Regions from separate parts of the Homo sapiens genome. Here all the other regions are linked to region 4. The links are contacts of gene promoters, found by promoter capture Hi-C in blood cells and fetal thymus (Javierre and others, 2016). All regions are on one chromosome and are shown on one strand. Each heading gives the region's core, a stretch centred on a gene start or on the middle of the fragment in contact. The rest is flanking DNA. Distances are from core to core; before and after follow the strand shown. Region 1 overlaps NOX1 (NADPH oxidase 1). Region 2 has its middle 37 kb from the start of CSTF2. Region 3 holds the start of NOX1 (NADPH oxidase 1). Region 4 holds the start of DRP2 (dystrophin related protein 2).

Evidence for each region. Contacts are between HindIII fragments. The CHiCAGO score rates a contact against its expected background, and 5 or more counts as called.
Region 1: a contact is called between a fragment that was not itself captured here and the fragment with the promoter of DRP2 in region 4, in 1 of 17 cell types (naive B cells). The highest score is 6.3, in naive B cells.
Region 2: a contact is called between a fragment that was not itself captured here and the fragment with the promoter of DRP2 in region 4, in 1 of 17 cell types (endothelial precursors). The highest score is 6.6, in endothelial precursors.
Region 3: a contact is called between the fragment with the promoter of NOX1 here and the fragment with the promoter of DRP2 in region 4, in 1 of 17 cell types (naive CD4 T cells). The highest score is 5.3, in naive CD4 T cells.

What each region holds. Positions count from the first base shown.
Region 1 is chrX:100,842,508-100,845,659 of GRCh38, forward strand. NOX1 (NADPH oxidase 1) reads right to left here. Exons shown (of 13, transcript NM_007052.5): 13 at 817-1,571. The coding sequence ends at 1,445. Among named protein-coding and RNA genes, the nearest start is that of CSTF2, 24 kb to the left of the region's middle. The HindIII fragment of the contact is 6,474 bases long and covers 1-3,152 here.
Region 2 is chrX:100,781,838-100,785,409 of GRCh38, forward strand. No RefSeq gene overlaps it. Among named protein-coding and RNA genes, the nearest start is that of CSTF2, 37 kb to the right of the region's middle. The HindIII fragment of the contact is 1,344 bases long and covers 1,323-2,666 here.
Region 3 is chrX:100,872,706-100,876,298 of GRCh38, forward strand. It overlaps NOX1 (NADPH oxidase 1), which reads right to left and starts at 1,654. Exons shown (of 13, transcript NM_007052.5): 1 at 1,390-1,654. The coding sequence starts at 1,434. The HindIII fragment of the contact is 11,783 bases long and covers 1-3,593 here.
Region 4 is chrX:101,218,512-101,221,668 of GRCh38, forward strand. It overlaps DRP2 (dystrophin related protein 2), which reads left to right and starts at 1,275. Exons shown (of 24, transcript NM_001939.3): 1 at 1,275-1,635. The HindIII fragment of the contact is 8,546 bases long and covers 1-3,157 here.

The DNA of each region.
Region 1 (3,152 bases), core at 446-2,945, 380 kb before region 4:
TTTCCCAAAGCCTTATTAAACCTGAATTAGCTGAAATCCGGGTGAACAAATTGGCAACAGCAGTGGTATCCCTCCCTATGTAAACAACCATCAGTATTGTTTTACTGTTGTAATAAATGAAACATGATTAGCCACCATGAGTTCATGACCTACCTTTATTGTGCTCAGACTAGTGACAAAAAAAAACCAAAAACAGTTTTATCCCTCAAGCCGTAGAGGTTCCTAAACTATTAGAAACAACCATTTGTTCATTCGTGGTCACTTAATGGTAGAAAAAATAGATAATATAATGCTAATTCAGTACAACCATTCTTCTAATCTATAATGAGTTGAATTGTCTGGGCACAATGAAGTGTGAGGTTTCTCTCTTAAGAGCCCTGGGCTTCTCTCCTTCTAGGGATTCACTGTGACGACTAACATCCCAGAGCCAGTGTGGTCCTTGTAGGCCGAGGTTGGGTAGATGGCAGAAATAAAAAGCATTCTGATAGAGAATGAAGGCATTTTGCTTATGTTATTAGCTGAATGATTCCTTAGCGATATAGGTAGGAGTCCACAAAAATCTATGAAAATTATAAATTGTTATTTTTTAAACTAGACATTAATAAACTCCCTTAATAGTGATAAAGAGCTCCTCTTGACTAAATAAGTCATCCTAACATGGAGTTCAAGTTTTCACAATCGCTTTTAACAGAATAATACAAGATGACAGTATAGCTGACTTGCAATTATAATACAATTTCAATTACAATGAGCATACTTTCTAGATTTTCTTTCCCAAATGGAGAGCCCAAAAAGAAGTAACAAAAGACTCATTCATCAAGTGAAGAAGAAAATCCTTTATTTTTTGATGAGCAAAAATAAGAATAAATTGCTGTTCACACTGGATAAGACCATATCAAAAGTGACAGTAAACATGTACACTGTTGGTGTTATATGGGGATGGGGTTCTCGGTAATTTTGTTTATTATTTATGTTTATTATTATGTTTTATCATTAATTATTCAATAAATTTTTATTTAAAAAGTCACCCTACTTAGAAATCTTCTGTGGGGGTGGGAGGGACAAAAGATTACAAACCAAAACTCAGGAGATGGTAACACTGGAATTGATAAAATCACCTGGGATTAGTTGTATAACTCTGAACCACCAAACCTCTGCTATCAAGCCTTGCTACAGTCATGGCTGTCCAGAAAGATTTACAGTTATTTTTCTGAGAAAGGATCCATGGGCTTTAAGAACTTCAGAACTTTAAGAACTTCAGAAGTTCTTAAGTTGCTGAAGCTCAAGTAACGAAGTTGAATGCAATCAAAAAAAGAATACCAGGGAGTCAAGGCTTGAGAGGCACATTCTTATCCTAAAGTGACTGCTCAAACCTGACGAGACCAAGTAAATTACTGAAGATACAAAGAGACAAAATGCAGATTACCGTCCTTATTCCTATAACTCAAAAATTTTCTTTGTTGAAGTAGAATTGAACCTTTCTAGGATCCAGACTGGAATATCGGTGACAGCATTTGCGCAGGCTCTTTGCCAAAGTCCGAGGGCCACATAAGAAAACTCCCACTACAGACCTGTAGGAACAGAACAATAGTAAGGGCTAGAATGCAGCAATGACAGAATGGAGAAACTGCCTCTGTTAGGCCTCTACTACTTCCAAGAACCTTGAATAAAAATTCGGTTGTTTACTCCCACGTTCTTCATGGTAGTTTTTTAACCTTTTCTGCGCACAAACCCCAAATATGCTCTCAGCCCTTAACACTCTCAGCACTCAGCCTTCCCTGTTTTGAGAACACAGATGACAGACATAAGACAGTGCAGTGGCTAAGTGCCAGACTGTGCAGCCAGTCTGTCTGGGTTGTCTGGGCTCAAATCTCAGCTCTGACATTTATCCCACCTGTGGGACTTTGGGCACATTTCTTTTTTTCTTTTTTCTTTTCTTTTTTTGAGATGGAGTCTTGCTCTGTCCCCCAGCTGGAGTGCAGTGGCACAATCTCGGTTCACTGCAACCTCCACCTCCCAGGTTCAAGCAATTTTCCTGCCTCAGCCTCCTGAGTAGCTGGGACTACAGGCACGCACCAGCATGCCCAGCTAAATTTTGTATTTTTATTAGAGATGGGGTTTCACCATGTTGGCCAGGCTGGTCTCAAACTCCTGACCTCAAGTGATCCGCCTGCCTCAGCCTCCCTAAGTGCTGGGATTACAGGCGTGAGCCACAATGTCCGACAAGGGAAAATTTCTTAACCTCTCTCTGTTTCAGCTTTCCCACCTGTAAAATGGGGATAAAAATAGTACTTACCACATAGGGTTGTTTTAAGGATTAAATAAGAACATGTAAATAAATTAGAAAAATGCCTGGCACATAGCAAGTACATATGTATTAGCTCCCATTAAACCCATCCACTGTGAGCTTATCCCTACCTCAAAATTTCTCCTAGTGGAGAGGTAGTGTTCTTTCTTGCCAAAGCTAATCTTTCCAACTATGCTCTGGGTCTCACCGTCTTCTTCCTTCTCTCATACCTTTCTCTCCCCCTCTTTTTTAAAAATATAATTATGGTATAGTTTCTATACCATAAAATTCGCCCCTTTGAAGTGTGCAATTTGTGCTTTTTAGCACAGCCACAAAGTTATGCAACCATCACCACTATCTAATTCCAGAACATTTTCATCATCCGCAAAGAAACCCCATCCACATTAGCAGTCCTCATTTCCTCCCAACTACCCTGTCCTACCCAAGACAATCACTTTACTTTCTGTCTCTGTGGGTATGCCTATCCTGAATGTTTCACATAAGTGGAATCATACAATACATGGCCTTTGGTGTCTGGTGTTTTTCAGCATGATGTTTTCAAGATTTGTCCATGTTGTAGCATGATTCAGTACTTTGTTTTTTTTTTAATAGCTAAATAATATTCCAGTATGTGAATATACTACATTTGCTTCATCCATTCATCTATTGATGGATGCTTGGCTTGTTTTCACTTCGGGGCTATTATGAGTAATGCTGCTATGTACATCATGTACAAGTTTTTGTGTAGACATATATTTTCATTTCTCTTGGGTGTATAACAAGGAGTGGGATTGCTGGGTCATATGGAAACTATGTGTTTTTTTTTTTTTTTTTTTTTTGAGACAGAGTCTTGCACTGTCACCCG
Region 2 (3,572 bases), core at 745-3,244, 440 kb before region 4:
CCTCGGCCTCCCAAAGTGCTAGGATTACAGGCGTGAGCCCCCGCACCCGAGCCCTGATATTAATTTTTAAATTAAAAGACTTTATTTTTAAAAGCAGTTTGAGGTTTACAGAAAAACTGAGCAGAAAGTACAGTCTCTATATACCCCCTACTCCCTGCCCCCAGTTTTCCCTGTTATTAACATTTGTGTTAATGTGGCATATTTGTTACAATCAGTGAATCAATATTGATAAATTAAAGTCCATATGTTAGTGTTCACTCTGTGTGTTATACAGTTCTATGGGTTTTGCCAAATGTATTAATATGTCATGTATCCATCATTACAGTATCATCCAGCATAATTTCACTGTCCTGAAAATGCCCTGTGCTCCACTTATTCATCTTTTCCCCACTTGCTATCACCACACCAAAGCCCTCACAACCACTTATCTTTTTAATATATCCATAGTTTTGCCTTTTGCAGAACATCATATCATTAGAATCACAATAATATGTGGCTTTTCAGACTGGTTTCTTTCACTCAGCAACATGCAGTTAAGGGTCTTCCGGGTCTTTTGTGGCTTGACAGCTCATTTCTTTTTATCACTGAATAATATTGCATTGTATAGATATACCACAGTTTTTTTTAAATTTACTCATCATTAAAGGACATCTTGATTACTTCTAATTTCTGGCAATAATGAATAAAGTTGATACAAAAACTTTTGTGTAGGATTTTGTGTGGACATATGTTTTCAACTCATTGAGGTAAATGCCTAAGGCATATTTAGTTTTGTAAGAAACTGCTAAACTATCTTCCAAAGTATCTGTACCATTTTGCATTCCCACCAGCTATGAAAGAGTTTCTGTTCTACATCTTCACAAACATTGGTGTTATCAGTGTTTTGGATTTTAGCCATTCTAATTGGTGTGGAGTGGTATCTCATTGTTGTTTTAATTTTGCAATTCCCTAATGACATATATGTTGAGCATCTTTTCATATGCATATTTACCATCTGTATATCTTCTTTGGGCATATGTCCATTCAGATCTTTTGCACATCTTTTCATTGGGTTGCTCATTTTCTTATTGAGTTTTAAGAGTTCTTCATATATTTTTGATAACAGTCCTTTATCAGATATGTCTTCTGCAAATATTTTCTCCCAGTCTTTGTCGTGTCTTTTCATTTACTTAACAGTGTCTTTCATAAAACAGAAGGTTTTAACTTTGATGAAGTCTAACTTGCCAATTTTTTCTTTCATGGATTGTGCTTTGTGTGTTGTATCTAAAAACTCATTGCCAAACACAAGGTCACCTCTATGTTCTCCTATGTTATCTTCTAGAAGCTTTGTAGTTTTCTGTTTTACATTTATAGGGGCTGTGAGAAGGTGACAGAGGTTACATGAGGTAATAAGGATAGGGCCTTAGTTGAATAAGGCTAGTGCCCTTATAAGAGGAAGAGACGCCAGTTTTCTCTCTCTCTACCATACGAAGACACAGCAAGAAAGTGGCCATCTACAAGTCAAGAAGTGGGCCATCACCAGAAACCAAATTACTGGCACCTTGATCTTAAACTTCCCAGCTTCCAAAACTGTGAGAAATAAATTTCTGCTGTTTAAGCCATGCAACCTACAGTATAAGTTATAGCAGCCCAAGCAGACTAAGACAGAACCCTTAGCATATTAATCATAGTTACTTTAAATCTCTGGTCCCATAATTCCAAAATATCTGCCACATCTGAGTCTGGTTCTAGTGCTTGCTTTGTTTCTTCAAGACTGTGGTTTTTTTTCTCTTTTTAGCATATCTTATAATTTTTCTGTTCAAAGCAAGGCATGATGTACTGGGTAAAGGGAACTGAACTGAGGTAGATAGGTGTTTAGAATGAAATTTAGAGGCAACTTAAGAAAGTACTCAAAAAACAAAATTATGGGAGCATGCTAAATGGACACAGGAGCCAGCCTGAAAGAGCTTGCAATGGACAAAGTTGGAACAATTTGAGCAACAAAATAAGTTATTCTTCCTTATAGAGGAATTCTAAATAATTTATATAGATACTTGCCTTCCAGGAAGTGGCACTTAATCCCCATCAAACCCTCATAAGTGTGGGCTGGACTTGGTAACTTCCTTCCAAAAAATAGAGTATGGAAAAGGGGTGAAGTAACTTCATAGTGGAAAAACCTGGCAAACACTACCTTGGTTAGCTGAGCAAAGCCTTGATATGGTGTGATGAGAATGGAATATTACCTTTGTGATCTTTCTCTCAAACACTTATAATCCCATTCTAATCATGAGGAAAGCGTAAGACAAATCCCAATTGAGGGACATTCTACAAAATACCTGAGGAGTACTCCTCAATAGGTCATCAAAACAAGTCTTAGAAACTGTCACAGTCAAGAAGAAACTAAGGAAAAATGACAACTAAATGCAATGTGGTATCATGGACTGGCTCCTAGAACAGAAAAAGTCAGTATATAAAAACTAAGAAAATCTGAATAAAGTATGGACTTTAGTGATAATAATGTATCAATATTGGTTTATTACTTGTAGCAAATGTACCATACTAATCTAAGATGATAATAAAAACAATAACTCTGTGTAGGGCCAAAGGGAGGGAAGTGGGCTGATACGGGAACTCTCCGCACTATCTTAGCAACTTTTTGGCAAATCTAAAATTACTCCAAGATACTAAGCTTCTTTTTTAAAAAAAATCACAAAACCTGAAAAATTTTAAAGAAATAAAAATTTAAAAATTAAAAAGAGTCAAATCCCAGCTGTATTTTTATTAATTATGTAATATTGTACAAGTCACTCTCTGAGCTTTGGTGTCCCTGTTTATAAAAGTGATAGAATACATTTTTGAGTGACATCTGAAAGATAGCAGAGTAGGAAGCTCCAGGCCCTCCTTTCCCCATGTAATCTGTGAAAGGAAATTCAATTTCGGGACGCCAAACTCATTTAGCGAAAGGGAAAAGTCAAAGTGGGAACTGGGTCATGCAAACCTGCCTCCCACTTTTGGGTCCTCAATAAGATGGCTACAAGATGAAAAGCTACATGCCTCCGCCATATTTTGCCCACAAGGAAATTCCTAGTGAGTTGTTAAAATTTCACCGTAGCAATGCAAATTGATAGCTTATCTTTACAGGTGCAGTCGCCCCCGGCGCACTAGACATAAATGCACATCTGAGTGTTCCCCTGCCCCATTTTGTCCATGTTATCTTATGTAAAATGCATATTCCCCACATTTTTCCTCTGCCTCTTTTATGTCATCTTATTAATGCAGATTCCCTGAGCCAGACAAAGGCATGAATGACTATTTTTCCCTACCCTCCTCTTACATGAAAATTGTGTACTTCTCAGTATCGCACCCTTTCCCCTTTAAATTTTGAGCCCTCAAAATCATCTTCGGAGACAGGCATAGACCTGTCTCCTGAGTGCATCCTTAACTTTGGCAAATAAATCCCCTAAAATGATTGAGACTTGTCATTTTTCTCAATTGACATCTGGTAACCACGAAGGGATCCTGAGTGAAAGTGACCCAGCCTGCAGTAGCTCACCTCTCAGTGCTTGGCACCGGCTTGGTCACCTTATAGCCCA
Region 3 (3,593 bases), core at 404-2,903, 350 kb before region 4:
TATATTTGTATCTAATCTAGTCACTTTATTAATCCCCTGCTCCCCTCCCCTGCCCAATTCCCCCCACCTACACACCCACAGGACCTGAAGTCTAGAGAGGATAAATAATTTGATCGAGATCACCCAGTTAGTAGCAGAATTCAAAGTACTTGCCAGGTTCCCTTTCTCCTAAACTAGTGTTCTTTCCATTATAGTGCAAAAGGAACTCAATATAAGGCATTGAGCATTTAAAATATGTCATGGGATAACCTGACAAAATAAGCACTTTTGTTAAATGTAAAACAAACAACCCTCCAGGGAAACTCCACATATTTTTCCCTGGAGCACCTGGTCGGGGGGCGGGGGGGTAGACAGGAATAAAAAGAAGCATCACACCTTCTCTCTTCTGTTTTGCCTGTGGGACCCAAAAGCAAAACAGGAGAAAAGAGAAAGAGTAATGAATGAAGATCTAGGAAAGTGAGAAAGGACACAGGGAGCCCCAGGCTCAACTGTGGCTCAGAAATGGAAGAATGAGAGTGGAGAGAGGTGTTAGAGTGTTAGGAGAAAGGGATTGTGCATACAAAGGGTGATAAAGGGGTTCTGGCCTGAACGTCATTGGGGAGCTGGGTTCGAGTGATGCCAATTCAGTCAATTCATTGTGTGACATCTAGGTCTTATTTTCCTTTGTACAATCAATAAGTTGGTTTACATCTGCACTATGCAATGCCACAGCCACTACCCACATGGGGCTGCTGAGCACTTGAAATGTGGCTAGTCCTCACTGAGATGTGCTGTGGGTATATATACACATCAGATTTGAAAGACTCAGTAAAAATAAAAATATGTAAATTAGCTTCTTAATATTTTCAATATTGAATACATACTGAAAGGATTTGTTGATATGTTGGGTTAAATGAATTATATTGTTAAATATTAACTTCACCTGTTTATTTTTACCTTTTCGGTGTAGGTATTAGAAAATTTAGGAATTACATTATGTGGTTTGCTATATTTCTAGTGGTCAGTACTGGGCCAGATGATCTCTAAGATCACTTTCATCTCAAACATTCAGTGACTTTTTGAAATCTTGATGGGACCAGTATAGGAAAGATAGAGAGAAATCAGCACTCATGGTAGTAGTTAGAAGTGAGATGGAAGAGAAAGGGAGATGACAGAAAATGAAAACAGATTGAAATTCCAAATACTTGTGATTTGACAACATGAACAATTGCATGTTATTTGCCTCTGTCCTCTCATCTGACCCACAGTTGTATTTTTTAACTAACTGGTCTTGATGAGCCCAATAATCGGCATGGAATCATCTTTCTCTTTCAAATTGCTTTACAAATATTAAAAAACATGATTTCTCCTTAATCCTTCCTAATTAATAGGAAGTCAAACATCACTTACCAGAAACAAAACTGAAAACCAGTGGTTAACCACCCAGTTTCCCATTGTCAAGAGGTGGTTTGGAGCCCTTCTAGGCAACAGGGAAGATTCAGCAATCCGGATTCTGGAGAGGTCCTTCAGGAATGGAACATTTGTCCAGCGCAGGGTCTGTGAGCCTTTAAGATGTGAAAAACACACACCTACCCCAAGAGTTCCTGGGAATGAATAAGTTTATTCTGCCTTCCTTCTCTGGACAGAACTGTGCTATCAGCTTAGATAGACCAGCCCTATCTATGAGAACCACAAGGGTTTTACCTGTGGGGATTTTACTGCTTCAGGAAATAGCAACATTCTTGGATGAAAATATTCTCTCTCATCATCTTATCAACATGACCTAATGTGAAGCATTGCCTTCCTAGATAAAAGATTTGCTAAAGTTTCTCATAAAAAAGATTATTAGTCTGGGTCTGTAAACAGATTACTTCAGGAGAAGTAGGGAGGGAAGCGTGTGTGGTAAGGAAGCTGTTTCAAAGTGCACTTTTCAAACTGTTGCCACATCTGCCGGCTGCCATTTGGATTTCAGCCTGGCTAGCTCAGAAACTTTAGCATACCAGTTCCCCTGGAGGATGATCTGTGGTTGACATATATGATGATGGCTTTGGGGAGAACTTGACTGGCTGGAAGGACAAGTGAAAAGAAGGGCCAAATAGAGCAAGAGAAAATTTAACAAGTATAAAAGTGCACTTTGGTTCAAAATAAACAGAGGCAGAGCACTCAAAAGAATGGAGATGATTGTCTTCTAGTATGATAGATTTACTAGAGTTGTGTGTTCAGCTCTGGGCACTGATTTTTTTTCCCTTTTCTAAAATGGTGAAATATACACAGAAGAGTATATAAAACATACATATGTAACTTAAAGAATAATTTTAAGGAATAAGTATCTATGTGTTCACTACTCAGATTAAAGAAAATAGACTATTTTTCTCCAGTATCTTAAAGCTCTTTGTATTTCCCTCCCTGATCACATCTATCTTCTTCCCCTCCTCTACCCCACCGGATGTAATCACTATCCTGAAATTTGGGGTAATCATTCTGTTATTTTTCTTTATATTTTTACTAACTATAATTGCATCCCTAAGCAATATATTGTTTAGTTTTTCCTGTTTTTGAACTTTTTGTAAATGAAACCTGGCAGTGTGTATGTATGCTTCTGTGGTTTGCTTCTTTCAACATTGGGTTTTTGAGATTCATACATGTACATGTAATTGCGGTTCACTTACACTGCTATCTAATATGCCATTGCATGAATGAATATACATTAATGTATTCATTCATCCTACTACTGATGGATATGATGATGGAACAATGTTGATCAAATGTCACACATATGCTACAGTTTCTCTAAGGTATATACCCAGGAGTAAAATTCCAGGGTCCTGAGATTTGCACATATTCTACTTTGCTGTGTAATTCCAAACCCGTTCCGAAGTGACCACCTAAATGTATACTACAGAGAGTTATGAATGAGAGTTCTACTTCCTCTACATGCTTACCAACCCTTGGTATTTTCCAGACTTTTTTGTTTTTATAATTCAAGTAAGTGTGGAAAACTATCGTATTATGATTTTAATTTGCATTTCCCTGATTACTAATGAGTTTGAGCATCTTTTAATTCAACTGCTGGCCATTTGAGTTTTCTCTTTTTAAAAGAGCCTATTCTGAGCCTATTCTACTTTTTGGTCTATCTTTCTATTGGTTTTTCTTTTGCTTTTAGATTCTTAGGGTTCTGTTTATAATCTTATACTAATCTTTTATTGCTTATGTTTATGGCTTGTCTTTTCAGTCTCTTAATAGTGTTTTCTGATAAATGGAAGTTCTTAATTTTAATGCACTCTGATTACCAGTCATTTCTTTTATGATTTATGCATTTTATGTCTTGTTTTAGAAATCCATCACTACCCAGATATCAAGATACTCTTTTATATTTTCTTCTAGAAATTTTATATTTTTGCATTTTACATTTATGTTTTGAATCCACCTGGAGCTGATTTTCATGTATGGTATCCAATTTACTACTTTTAAATATGGAAAACGAATTGCCCCAGCATCATTTTTGAAAAGTACTTTTTATTTTTATTTTTATTTTTTTGAGACAGGGTCTCACTCTGTCACCCAGGTTGGAGTACAGTGGTGTGATCTCCCTTCACTGCAACCTTCACCTCCTG
Region 4 (3,157 bases), core at 25-2,524:
TACTAGTCCTAGGAAGTATTTTCTTTCTTTCTTTCTTTCTTTTTTTCTTTTTTTTGAGACAGAGTCTTGCTCTGTTACCCAGGTTGGGTGCAGTGGTGCGATCTTGGCTCACTGCAACCTCCACCTCCCAGGTTCAAGTGATTCTCCTGCCTCAGCCTCCTGAGTAGATGGGATTACAGGCGCACACCACCACGCCCAGCTAATTTTTGTATTTTTTTGGTAGAGACGGGGGTTTTACCATGTTGGTCAGGCTTGTCTCGAACTCCTGACCTTGTGATCCGCCTGCCTCGGCCTCCCAAAGTGTGGGATTATATAGGCGTGAGCCACCACGCCCGACCCTAGGAAGTATTTTCTAAGTTCCAGTGCCATCAGAGCTTATAAAATTTTTAGAGGCAAATCAGTGAACTTAAGCAACCCACTCCCAACCAGTCTTTGTCTCTCTCCATATACACCCTGTTCCCAGAGATGGAGGGAGGAAAGAAGAAAGCTGCTTTTATCCTTTGCTGTGGCCTGGGACTGCTGGGGCTTTAAATCTTTGTATGTTTGTGTAGGAGGGTGAGGATGGGGACTTTCTGACTGCTATTCATCCACCTATTCATTCAATTTACTCATTCAACATATATTTATTAAGTAACCTACTGTGTGCTGGGCACTTGGTAAAGGGATATAATCTTATCTATCCTGCCAGTGGCTTCTCCCAGGTCTCTGAGGGTGTTTGGAGCTCATACCCTCTTCTCTTTAACAAGCGTGACAGTTAAAAGAGTAAGGGCTGGTATGGACAAAAGCAGGAAGGTGCCTGGGGTAGTAGTCATTGAGGTGAGTCATGGAGGAGCTGTATTTTCCTGAATTATTCAAGATCCATTTTGTTTCCCCAATTTGTTGAGGCTTTTTCTACACGTGAGATCTAAGAGGGTGTGAGGATGAGACTTAGGGGTGACTGGCAGACTGTCCTGAGCCCAAAACTGTACCTTGAGTACCAGTGATGATTCCAGACCACAGTGTTTCAACCCTCAACACAGAAGCAGAATCCTGGACTGGCTACCGAGGGGCCCCTGCCAGCTGCTGGCTCCAAAGTTGGTTTTGTCTGTGGGCTAGATCGGTGTAAGTTGGGGTCCAGGCTGCTCGCTCAGCAGCCTGATTGATCTCCAGGGCTCTTTTGTCTCCTCCTCCCCAGTGGAAGCCTCTCCCCCTCTTCCCCTCTCCCCCTCTCCCCCTCTCTCCCTCTTCCCCCTCTCCTTGTCTCCTTCTCTCCCCCTCTGCTTCTCAGGCTCTTCCGCTTTCCTCCTCTGCTTCTAATGAATTGACATCTCCAAGAGCCGCCACATCTCTGGTAGTTTTACAAAACTGTCCTTGCTCTTCCTGCGTTTGCCCAGTCAAGGGTATTTTTGCCTGAGGTCGGAATGATGCTGTTAGTCCTGGTGATATGATTGCATAGCAACACAGAGCAGCTCTGAGAGGGGAGGAGGAGGAGAAGAAGGAAGACAGGGAAGTGGGAGAGACAGAGGGAGAGTGTGCATACAGCAGCTGTCGGCATCCCTGTCTCAGGGACTTCTTTGCTGATTCACAGAGGCAGCCCAGCCCCGGCCTCCCAGCTTACAGCTGCCGCCTGCTTCTCAGACCTGACGGAATCAGAAGGTAGGCCACAGAAAAATTATTTCCAAGCCTTGGCCTTGTTCAGCTGGCTGAGGGGAAATGACTGAGGGAGGGGAAGCTCCAGAGGTACTGTGTGGCGGGCGAGGGGTGGGGGGAGAGAGGGAAAATGAGTGTGTGTGTGCGTGTGTGTGTGTGTGTGTGTGTGTGTGTACGCGTGCCTGCCTGCGGTCTGCTTGCATGTGCCTTTAGTGGAAAACTTGCATTTAAAAATGCCCACAATAAAGTAGTCACCATTTAGATTCATAAAGAAAAAAAAAAAGATGCCCAAGAATAGAAACTCAAGCCGATTTGAGCAACTAAGGTCTAAAAATGAATAAGAAGGAGGTACACAGTTTGCTTCTTTGAGAAAAGAGGGGCATTTATTTATTTTAGGTTCTCAATAGCATGCTTTTTGTCCAAGGGTATACTTCTTGGCAGGAGGGAAGCAAAGGTGTGTGGAAAGCCTTGGCTAACAAGGGAGGAGAGAGGAAACATGGGACCTTGGAGCAGGTTCCCTGAACAAATGAGTATTCTGGCCAGCAGACAGGACACAGGAGTTCTTTGCTGAAGTAAACCAGGCTCTGACCTAAGAGCCTGGAGCTGAAGGGCTCATCTCATCTCTGTATTTACTTCCTGGCTCTGTTGTTTTTCCTGTGACATTTTTCCCCCTTATCTTCTCCCCTGGTTTCCTTTCTACACCCTGTAATCAGGAGGCATCTTTCCACTCTTGAAAGCATAGCTTGGAGTGGTTTCAAATAGGGCTTGCTTCTCTTGGAGTCCAACACCCTATCACCTTCTGCTCTCACCACCTTTCCCAGCATCGGACCAAGTGCCCCAGCCTAGTAAGTGGGCCTGAGACTATATGGGTAGTTAATGTTTATCCTTCCTTTGGTAGGCAGGTCGAGCCAGGCCTCACAGGTGTTGGGTCTAAGCAGGTGGCAAGGCTGGGCTGGGGTGGGGTGGAGTGGGGTAGAGGAGAACGTCAGCAGCAGCTGCTGCCTGCTTCCGTTGAAAGCATGGTGCATGCTGTCTGGAAAAGAACATACTTTTTAAAAATGTTTTCTTTTTGATTGTCAAAAGAACAAAAGCCTTAAAAAAGCTCTATGTCTAGTTCATCTTAATTCCTGACTTTTCCAAAGAATCCTTGTTTCTAGATGAAAGGCCCTCAGGTAAATCACCTTTTAAAAGGCCTGTGGGAACCACAAGCCTCAGGTGATTTTCCTTCTAAGGTTTGCGTGGGGAGATGATCCCAGAGAATCTCAGGGCCTTCTAAGGAAACCTCCGTGAAAAGGCAGTGTTGGAAGTGGCAGTGTTGTGTCCTGTTTCTGAAAGAAGACCAAGCCCCTCTGTCTCTGGGTTGGCAGGCCTCTGTCCTGTAGTCTTGCTTTCTGTAAACCATTGCTGGGGGATGAAGGCACATGGAAAGAACTCCTCTTCCTGTGAGATTTGTACTTCTAGGCATTCAGCCTCAGCTAAGTAGCTCTGTGCTCCAGGTCAGATTACCCTTCAAGTCCACCATAAAGGA